2 separate regions of the Homo sapiens genome follow, and region 2 is linked to region 1. The links are contacts of gene promoters, found by promoter capture Hi-C in human tissues and cell types (Jung and others, 2019). All regions are on one chromosome and are shown on one strand. The core of a region is centred on a gene start or on the middle of the fragment in contact, and the rest is flanking DNA. Distances in the headings are between cores, read along the strand shown. Region 1 holds the start of PMCH (pro-melanin concentrating hormone). Region 2 overlaps PARPBP (PARP1 binding protein).

Evidence for each region. Contacts are between HindIII fragments. The study calls those that stand out against the background at their distance.
Region 2: a contact is called between a fragment that was not itself captured here and the fragment with the promoter of PMCH in region 1, in 1 of the 25 tissues and cell types used here (hippocampus).

What each region holds. Positions count from the first base shown.
Region 1 is chr12:102,194,048-102,199,616 of GRCh38, reverse strand. It overlaps PMCH (pro-melanin concentrating hormone), which reads left to right and starts at 1,784. Exons shown (of 3, transcript NM_002674.4): 1 at 1,784-2,095; 2 at 2,446-2,644; 3 at 2,916-3,158. The coding sequence starts at 1,847. The coding sequence ends at 2,965. It overlaps PARPBP (PARP1 binding protein), which reads right to left. Exons shown (of 11, transcript NM_017915.5): 10 at 4,170-4,305; 11 at 2,097-3,666. The coding sequence ends at 3,326. The HindIII fragment of the contact is 16,025 bases long and covers 1-5,569 here.
Region 2 is chr12:102,158,310-102,163,974 of GRCh38, reverse strand. All of the region lies in intron 4 of PARPBP (PARP1 binding protein), which reads right to left. Among named protein-coding and RNA genes, the nearest start is that of PMCH, 37 kb to the left of the region's middle. The HindIII fragment of the contact is 4,500 bases long and covers 951-5,450 here.

The sequences.
Region 1 (5,569 bases), core at 535-3,034:
ACTTCTGGTCCTAAGCATTTCAGATAAGGGATACCTAACTAGAACCTTAATATCCTGTCAAGTGTTCTTACGGAACTTGAAAAGCTGATTTTAAGATTTATATGGAAAAGAAATGACTAAGAATAGCTAAGGAACTGCTGTAAAAGAAAAACATGTGGGTAAGTAGAGGGCTGGGAAATTTGACCAGATATTAAAAATTATTTTAAAGTTATATTAATACTGTAGATTTGGCTGTGGAATAGAACGTTCTGAAAGGAGCCCACACATATATAGAAATCTGATATACTGTAGAGATGGCACTGCAGATTAGTGGGGACAGGATGACTTCTTCAAGAAATATATAAGGACATTGGAAAAAGTAAAATTACATCTCTATCTTATATCATACACAAAATTACAGATGAATTACAAACCTAAACATGAAAGTCAAAATATTTAAACTTTTAGAAGAAAATATATGAAAACACGTTAATAATCTAAGGATTGAGAAGGATTTCTAAAAAAAAACAACACATTAAAAGTAGTTGCCATAAAGAAAAAAGAAAAATATTTAAACATTAAAATTAATCAGTTTGGTTCACCAAAAGACACCAGAGGGGTTGAAAATATGTCACAAACTGAGCGAAAATAATTGAAACATATATAACTAACAATTAATATCCAGAATATATAAAGAACTCCCATAAATAAATTAGAAAAAGACAACCCAATAGAAAAATGGACAAAGCCAAAAAAGAAAAAAAAAAAAAGCATTTAACATAAGAGGAAACATAAATGGCTCAGAAACATATGGGAAGACACTTAACCTCTTTGGTAATTAGGAAAATACAAATTAAAAGGACAATGAGACACAAGAGTCAGCTAGGACATGGAACAATGGAAATTCTCATACCCTGCTTATCGAGGGCACAAATCGCTTACAACTATGTTGGAAAACATTTTGGCATTAGTAAAGCTGAACATATACATACTCCATGATCCAGTAATTCCATACTGAGAAATATACTCTAGAAAAATTCTTACATATATGTACCAGAAGACATATAAAAGAATGTATTATCTTATTCATTGGGGTCAAAATTAGAAATTAACTCTGAAATGTTTAATTAAAAGTCATACAACATAAACTCATCATCCAAAAGTAATGTTTATGGGCACATAAATATTCTTTTCATGGACTAATTCATTAATTTCTAAATTCATTAATAAATATTTGTACATATTATCCTTTTGTAAATGCAGAGATAAAATACACCTGACAGGTCAATTTTTGATATAGCATGAATGGCTTTTTGTTCACACTGACAGGCATATGTACTTTAATCACCAAAAACTATATCAAGTATTTATAAAAGAAAGTCTCTTTTGAGGATTATTTCAGTTTAATCAGGATTAAAAGGAAATAAAACTTTATCCTTATCATCCTTGAGTGAAATAACTTGAGTTTTAATATCTTTACTTAATCAGAAAATACACAAAAGGAAACAATAATATAGAGAGAGCCTGATGTCCTGTGGTCTTCCTTAATAACAACCCATTTTCAAGAGACTATAATCTACTCAACAGAAAGCATTCTACCAAGGATCTTAGTCAGATTCTGAGAAAATTCACACTCAAAATAAACAATGTGTCACTAAAACCAAAACAATGTAGGTATTAGCAGCTGCATAAAGGTTAGCCTCAATCTAATGAGTCATTTCTAAAATGATGAAAAGTATAATTCTTTGAAGTGCTTTCTATTCAAGCTAGAAAATATATAAAGATACAGAATCGTTTACCAAGCAGGCTGACAGAGAAATTTTTCATTTTCTTTCTTGTTTGACTGTATGCAAACATCAAACTAAGAATGGCAAAAATGAATCTCTCTTCCTATATATTAATACTAACTTTTTCTTTGTTTTCTCAAGGTATTTTACTTTCAGCATCCAAGTCCATAAGAAATTTAGATGATGACATGGTATTTAATACATTCAGGTTGGGGAAAGGCTTTCAGAAGGAAGACACTGCAGAAAAATCAGTTATTGCTCCTTCCCTGGAACAATATAAAAATGATGAGAGCAGTTTCATGAACGAAGAGGAAAATAAAGTTTCAAAGGTAAGTGGCAATGTGACTTGTCGTTTATTTCAATGAAAATTTAAATGATTCTTACAAATCCTCTGAAAAGTAAAACTGATACTTTTATAAACAGAAGTATATGCAAACAGTCACAATATGCATTAGGACGACTGACGATATTTCTTACATGCCAGGTAGTTCTTCCATCCCAGCAAACACCTCTTATCTGAAAGTGTTTTTTCTCCTATAAATTTGCATCTAAGGTATTTTTAAAAAGTCAAAAACAGTGCAGAGTAACTTTGAATTGATCAACAAGAATATTATACAATTGTATTATAGTTCCACTCCGAATACGATAGCTAAAAACCAAATCAACCTTCTCTTTACAGAACACAGGCTCCAAACATAATTTCTTAAATCATGGTCTGCCACTGAATCTGGCTATAAAACCTTATCTTGCACTAAAAGGATCTGTAGCTTTCCCAGCTGAGAATGGAGTTCAGAATACTGAATCAACACAAGAAAAGAGAGAAATTGGGGATGAAGAAAACTCAGCTAAATTTCCTATAGGAAGGAGAGATTTTGACAGTGAGTAGTCTTTTCAAAATTCAATTCTTACATCCTACCACCATTAAACAGAACTCTGAGTTAAAGTGAATTTGGATGCAATCATAACAAAATCAAATAAGACCATGGCTCAATTACACCTGCCAAAAATGTGGGATTAAATAGCAACAATTAATTATTATCATTTTGGTTTACTCAGAATTAGTTATACTAGATCCATTCTTTTTTTCTTAATAAATTTTGTGTGATAATTATAGTCCTTTAAACAATTTAAACTTTCTTCTTCCTTCAGTGCTCAGATGTATGCTGGGAAGAGTCTACCGACCTTGTTGGCAAGTCTGATACCTGTTGGTCCACATCATCTTTTCAGAAGAAAATAAAAGCATTTAATTGCCAATGGGAGGAGAAGCCCATACTGCTACTATAACTTGTGTATGTTAAATGTCTGTTTTAAAAGAAAGTAGTGTTAAGATGTATCAGTAACTGAAATGATATGCTTTCTCTGTGCATTAAACTTTGTGAAAATTCTGCATAATTATGACTTACTAGTATTTTTAAACAATGCTTAACATACTAACCTTACATACACTGTAGACCAAAATAATAAATCATCATAATTTACACCTTGATCTCTTAAAAATTAAGCATGTCTTTGGTGAATGGTTTATAGATACATAAACCTAAAGCATATAAGACACAAATTTATAGTCTAAAAAACTGAGTTAACTTTGCCTGGCCAGAAATCAACTTGTCCTTGGCAGTACATTTATTACTTTTTGCTACTTTAGCTAGTTTGCCGTACAATCTATTCTGTGAATCATTTGATTTCTTAGGTATTTTAGCATTTTTATGTTGAGGTGGTTCATTTCTATTATCACAGAGAATATTTTCACCATCCAAATCCACCTGTTTCCTTTTTGAGCTTTTATTTCCTGTCTGACTGGTTGATTTTCTTGATACTTTTTCATTTTTACTTCTGTCCAGATGAACATTTCCAAAACTCGTTCCAATTGTTGATCTTCCAACAGATGGATTTACACCCTCTGTTATGCAAGATAAAAAGGGGAAAGGAATTACATGATATTGAGTATTAATATTTACGAGAACTTTACAATAAACTTTAAAAATGGCTAACGAATATTCAAATTTTTAAAGTAAAATAATGCTATAAATAATATGATTGACAAATATAGCTACATTACTATCCTATTACTTTTCATTTTATCATAGCACCTCTGAGTTAGCTTTGGCCAGTAATCAACTTGTCAGCCCTATTAAGAAATATTTGTTTGAATGCATGACATTTAATCCTTAAACATATGCTACAAATTACTTCTTAAATACATTTAGTTAAATCAAACTGTGTCCTATTCCTATCGATAAATTTGTACTTAGATTTAACTTTTTAAATAAACTGAGGTCTTTAAAAATATTACCCTTTACATTTCATAGTACTTTGCAAAAATAACCTAATTTTACTTAAGTTAAAACTAATTAGTAGACTAGAATTAAATTGTTATTTAATTGCACAAATAAGGTCAATTACCAGAAAGGTCATTTTCCATGTAAAGAACACACAAAGGCTTTGATGCTAAATTAACATTATTCCAATTATCCTTGCTTATCATGTAGTCATCTTTATAAGTACAAGCAAATTGGGATCTAATTAAAGTTTGCTTCATCTAGTAACAGAAAGAAAGAAGAAAATATGCAAATTTATTCATTATTTTATTTCTTCATCTAGATAGACACACACTCTATAGTAATCAAGGTATAAAAATTTCCCTTAGAAATTCTATTACTCATTGAGAACCTCTCTCTAACCTTTTATATTTCATAGTTTGCAAACTCATTCATTGTTATGGCTAGCATTTTTGTTCTTTTCCAAAATAATAGCTTTATGTATATTTTTGATTTTTTTTTTGGTAACAGTTACAAAACAATCAATTTTAGACTCTTCGCAGGGCTTTGTTACATGTTCCTGTGTCAGCACTGCTTTGGAGCGTCTTATTGTAAGTAAAATAACAATACAGGTGATATACATAATCATAGAAAAATACAAGTTCTTCATCCTAAGAAGAACACACTCTTGGAAAAAAAATAGCATATGGAATTCAAGAAATTAGGGAGGGAAGAAATGCTAAGATGAAAAAAAGAACTAAGTGAGGTCAATCAAAAACAGGAAACTAGCAAAGAAACTGCAAGATAAAACAAAATGATATAGGAAAGACATTATTTCTCGAGTATTTAGGAAAACAAGAAAGATGATTCAATGTATCAGTCTAGAAAGATTTGACCAAGTGACTTAATGGTCAGAAATCCAAAGTATACTCTTGCATTTATCTTCAAACATCAAATAGGAGGGCCTAACTTTCTACATAAATAGGAGAAAATTACAAAGATGAACTCAATTCTTGATCACTGAAAAGGATGCCAAAAAAAGTAGTTTTGGAAATTTGTTCCACAAACATAAACCAGTGAGCTATTGGGGATAGAAATTAATTTTAGAACAAAGTAGCCTATACAAATAATGCCAATTTCAACAATTACAAATGATGTGTAATACCATTCAGGTTTAATGGAGAGATGTCTCCAAATAATTAGAAGTCACCTGAAATCATTTTCTGACATAGACAAAGTTTCAAATACATAATTCAATAAAGATGACTTCAGTAATTCAAAAATGTAACACTTCGAGTATAACTACATTACCCTGATTATTACTTACAGAGTATTTGTTGATACAGTCATGAAATCTAAAACAGCATGACTTTATATATTCAGTAGTTATATATTATATGTTCAAAGATCGATGCATTAATTCACTCAGATGTTTGTAAAGACAATGGCAGTGAAATCTACTGACTATGACTTAGAAAAAGTTAGAATATTCGTCTGTCCAGCTGCTTCATAAAAGCAAGTTTTCCTAGGATGACAAATTTTCTA
Region 2 (5,665 bases), core at 1,951-4,450, 37 kb after region 1:
CCCCCCCTACTCAAGGTAAAAAGTAGTCAACAGAAATTGTCACCAAGTAGACCTAGATGCTGAGTTTAGGAGAAAAACATCAAGGCAGTTATTATGAATTATGTTCAAGATATTAACAGGAAATATGTTCAATGAATTAAAAGAATATCTGTTACCAACAAATTAACAGAGGGAATGTCAACAGAAAAGTGGACAAAATAAATTCTGGAAATGAAAAGTACAATAAGTAAAACAAAATTTGCTTGATGGGTTCAACAGCAACTTGGAGAGAGTAGAAGAAAGTATTGTTGAACTTATAGACAAACCAATAGATATTATCAAATCTGAAAAACAAAGGAGAACAACAACAACAAAAAAGATGAAAGAATCAAAGGGATTAATGAGACAATTTAAGAGGTCAAACATACACGTAATTGGAATCCCTGAAGAGAAGTGAAAAGAGTAGAAAAAATACATGAATACATTTTGTCCCAAAGCATCCCAAATTTAGTAGAAAACATTAACTTATAGATCCAATAAGCTATTTAAGTAGGAAAACCAAACAAAATGAATATAAACTCTGACAGCCAAAAGTAAGAGAAAATCTTGAGTGCAGCCAGAACAAAATGACACATTACCTACAGAGGAACAATAATAAGGTTAACAAATCATCCAGAAGTATGTAGGCCAGATGATATTGGAACAGTATATTAAAAATGCTGAGAAACAATCTAAATTACTATACGATTACAATAATTAAGATAGAGTAGTATTTACAAAAGAACACTCAGCTCAATGGAACAGAATAGCGTGCAGAAATAGACCAACACAAATATAGCAATCTGATTTTTCACAAATGTGCAAAAGGAACAATGAAGAAAAGACAGTCTTTTCAATAATTGGTGTTGGAGCAATTGGTCATCCATATGCAAAACACATGAACTTCAACTTAAACTTCACACCTTTTATAAAAGTAAACTCAAAGTGGATCATAAGTCTATAAATGTACAACATAAACTATTAAACTTTTAAAAGAAAACATAATAGAAAATCTTCATGACCTGGAATAAGGCAAAGAGTTCTTACATAAGACACCAGAAGCACAATGAGAAAAGGAAAAATAAAAAGATAAATTTCATTTCATCAAAATCAAATTCCTTTTTTTTTTTTCTTTTTTTGAGAAACAGGGTCTTGCTGTTAGGCTGGAGTGCAGTGGCACAATCAGGGCACACTGTAACCTCAACCTCCCAGGCTTAAGTGATCCTTCTGCCTCAGCTTCCCCGGTAGCTAGGATTACAGGCATGTGCCACCACAAGCAGCAAAACGTTTTTATTTTTTGTAGAGAAAAGGTCCCACTATGTTGCCCAGGTTGGTGTTGAACTCCTGGGCTCCAGTGATCCTTCTGCCTTGACCTCCAAAAGTGCTGGGAATACAGGTGTGAGCCACCATGAGCAGCGCAAAATTAAATTCCTTGCATGGAATTTTCTTCCTATTTTTGCCTTCTCAACTACTTCGATCCCACCTTCTGCTCTAGAATCCTGTTTCTAATTCTTATTGTTCCCAAACTGTCCACTTGAAATCATATTCTTGCCTATTCCCTCAGATAACAGACTCACGAATTCTAAACTCGATTCCCACTCAAAACACATGAAATTCAAAAATCCTTCAGTAATTTCAGTCACAACTAATATCCCCGGAATTTATCATCTGTAAATGCTAAGAAAATATTTCCCTTATTAAAACTAAAATTTCATCATATTCAATCTAATCACATGTTAAATTTTTGAAGCATAAAAGAAACTAAAAAAGGCAGCAATAAAAAATTACAAATCCTTAGCAAGCCTCTTAGATAGTTGTTAAGCATATACACCTTAAAATAAATTCAAAAGATAATATATTTTGACTGTTTAAGTTCCCATGCAAAAAACAATTATTAAAAAGTAGGAGGCAGGCAGGGTCAATTTAAAAGAAAAACTTCACTGGACAGGAAAGCATTGCCTTAAATATGGACTCGAGATAGAATTTAAGCAAAATTAATTACAAGAAAACAAAGTTTAAAGATTAACCATGAGAAAGATTTTTTCTTGCATATTAAGTAAATGTTACCTTTTCAGAGATGCTCCCTGATTCCCCAGTCTAAAGTAGACATTCATGTATTCTCTTTCCTGCCATCCTGTGATAACTCTGCATATCACCCTATTATAATTCTCTGCATACTTTTCTTTTTAATATTTTTTTAAGGATACAATATTTCACTATGTTGCCCAGCCTAATCTTGAACTCCTGGGCTCAAGTGATCCTCCTGCCTTGACCTCCCAAAGTGCTGGGATTACAGGCATGAGCCACCATGCCTAGCCACTTTCTGATAACGTTTCTTAATCCTCCTATTACTTTGTGAGTTCCATGAGAGCAAATCATCTGTCCTTAGATCCTAACAGAATGACTCGCATTATAGTAGGTAATCAATCTGTTTTTGTCAATAGGTTCTCAATGAGTTTTCATTCAATGATGAATGAAAGAAAAATTAATACATAAATTTGACTCTTTAAAAATTTCAAAATTAAAAATCTATTAAGAAAAACTTACCTGAGGCTGGGTGTGGTGGCTCACACCTGTAATCCCACCACTAGGAGGCCAAGGCAGGTGGGTCACTTGAGACCAAGAGTTCAAGACCAGCCTGGCCAACACAGCGAAACCCTGTCTCTACTAAAAATACAAAAAAATTAGCTGGACGTGGTGGCACACACCTGTAATCCCAGCTACTCGGGAGGCTGTGGCACAAGAATCACTTGAACCTGGGAGGTGTAGATTGCAGTGAGCCAAGATAATGCTACTGCACTCCAGCCTGAGCGACAGAATGAGACTGTCTCCAAAGAAAAAAAAACTTACCTGGGATAAAATAAATGCCATATTTTTTATTATGGTGCCTTACAAAGAAAGGTATTCTAAGTCACAACCAAATAAAAATAAGCTTTAAGGCTTCTCCTAAAATTTTATAAAATAATGTATAATATAGTTTTCTGATTATATATATATTTTTTTTTTTTGAGATGATGTTTCCCTCTTGTTGCCCAGGCTGGAGTGCAATGACACGATCTCGGCTCACCACAACCTCAGCCTCCCAAGTTCAAGTGATTCTCCTGCCTCAGCCTCCCAAGTAGCTGAGATTACAGGCATGTGCCGCCACGCCTGGCTAATTTTGTATTTTTAGTAGAGACGGGATTTCTCCATGTTGGTCAGGCTGGTGTCAAACTCCTAACCTCAGGTGATCTGCCTGCCTCAGCCTCCCAAAGTGCTGGGATTACAGGCGTTAACCACCATGCCCAGCCTCTGCTCATATTTCAAATGTCCTTTTATCTTTACTTTCACAGTAAATCACAATACTTCTATTACACAAGTCTATAATATGAGTTTCCATTTTAACTTCACAGTGCAATAGTCTAAGACACAATTCTTTGTATTCCTTTGACATCTGAGAAGAATAACACAATTTACCGAAAATCAAAGCAGAGAAAAAGTGACATTCACATTGTAATCAGAAACTTTTCCTACATTTAACTTAATGCAATCTCTATGTCACTGTGCTTCTGCTGTTCAAAAATAACAAGAACTTAACAAATATGTATATACCTGATCCTAATTGGGTACAAAACCAGGGCTTAAGCTCTCACATCTACAACTTGCTCTTTAAGGTTAGCAAATTTTGTCCTTCTGATCTGTGATGTTGGGCAAACTTCAGGGAAAAACATCTTGGAGTCCTCACAGTTAGAGTGTTTCTTTTAGCTCATGGCTGCAATTGGAAATCTATCCCTCTTATTATGGTCAGATAACATGGCTGTTATGGTTTCCTTGCTCTTGTATTTACAAGTGAGTTTTAAAGAGGTTCCCTGGAAAAGCAGTCCACATAAGTATAGTTATGATGTCCAAGAGCAAGGGCCTAAATTGAAAACATCCACAAGATTGAAGCCTTTACCAAAACACCAAAAATAAGGATACTGTTCTGTTTATTTGTTTAATAAACTGATTATATCCATACCACAAAGTATTTGCAATGTTTGTTTAGAAGCTGGACAATTTTATTTAAGCTTTCTGATAATTCCAAGTTTCTTTTCCTATCTCTTCTTACTGAGAGGCAGATATTCAACCTCAGTTTGAAGAAAGTCAGTTTTTCTAAGCTGAGAAGATTAACAATTTATACAGGGTCTTTTTTTAACTTTTGTTTGCCAATGCATAAATGCTTATATATACTGACAAAAAAAAAGTTGGACAAAAACTAAGATACTTAGTAGATTTTTTTTTTTAACTGATGATTTTCTTTTTCTGGCCTTTATTCTATTATTCCCTTCATTACTTCAGAATTTTAAAAGCAATGGTTTAGTACCTTAGGAAAAATAAAATGAAGTAAAATAAAATAAGGAAACAAAAATATTGTTTCTCAAATTCAATCCATTCACCTACTTGAAGACTGGTGTCATATTAGTAAACACATTTGATGGTCAAAATATTTCTCTGCAAGACTGAAGCCCAAAAATTCACATTAGGATTTTAATTAGAGCTACATTGACTTCCAGCTGGGTGCGGTGGCTCACGCCTGTAATTCCAGCACTTTGGGAGGCCGAGGTGGGTGGATCACGAGATCAGGAGTTCAAGACCAGCCTGGCCAACATGGTGAAACCCTGTCTCTACTAAAAATACAAAATTAGCCAGGCGTGGTGGCACGGCCTGTAATCCCAGCTGCTCAGGAGGCTAAGGCAGGAGAATTGCTTGAACCCAGGAGGCGGAGGTTGCAGTGAGCTGAGATCACACCACTGCACTCCAGCCTGGGTGACAGAGTGAAACTCCGTCTCAGAGGGGAAAAAAGAAATACACTGACTTCCAAAAAGACCTTGTAAAAAGAAAAATTAGAAACTGCAAGTAACAGAAGCATGGTTAGGAAGATGGCTGCCAATTTAATACTCCTCAGAAAATCAAATCCATTAGTTGAACTAGTAGGTAAAATTCTATTAGAAAATATAATCCAAGAAAGCAAAAGTTAGAAATTAGAGAATTAACACAATGAAACTATCAGTGTTGTTTAAATCAGGAAACTACATGCTTATAATCTTTAGTCACAGATACTCCTTTAAACTTTATAAGCCGAAGTTCTAAAAGCTTAATTCTTTTCACATATACAAATTGGTTCATTCCTCTTTAAAAATACAAATATAACAATTATAATTTCCTCCCTGTAGTACATACAGGATAGATAAAAGAGATCTTTAAGTAATCTACCCTTTTGATACACAAATACACTGCTTAAGCGCCACCGAGAAAAGATCAGGCAATTTGGCAATCACTTTGTCAAGATTTGGAGCATCAAGGGAAAAGAAAGGAAATGTAAGTGAAAAATTAATTTCAAGCAAGAGAAAATAGTTACAAATCTCTAAAAGGAACCAGGTCTGGGCAGGAAACATTCAAGGTGGGCTTGGGATATTTTCTTGTACCAGAAAAGAGGAAAATGCTTGAAAAGTCTACTAGAGCATGTAAAAAAGACACAAAAACCTGCTTGAAGCAGCTTCCTCTATTTTAGCATCAAAGATTAATGAGTGTAACTCATTTTAAAACAGTGAATAAATATAAATTCATGAATCCAAACAATAGACACACAAAAAGGAGAGCAATAAAAGAATAAATATCTAATTTGCTT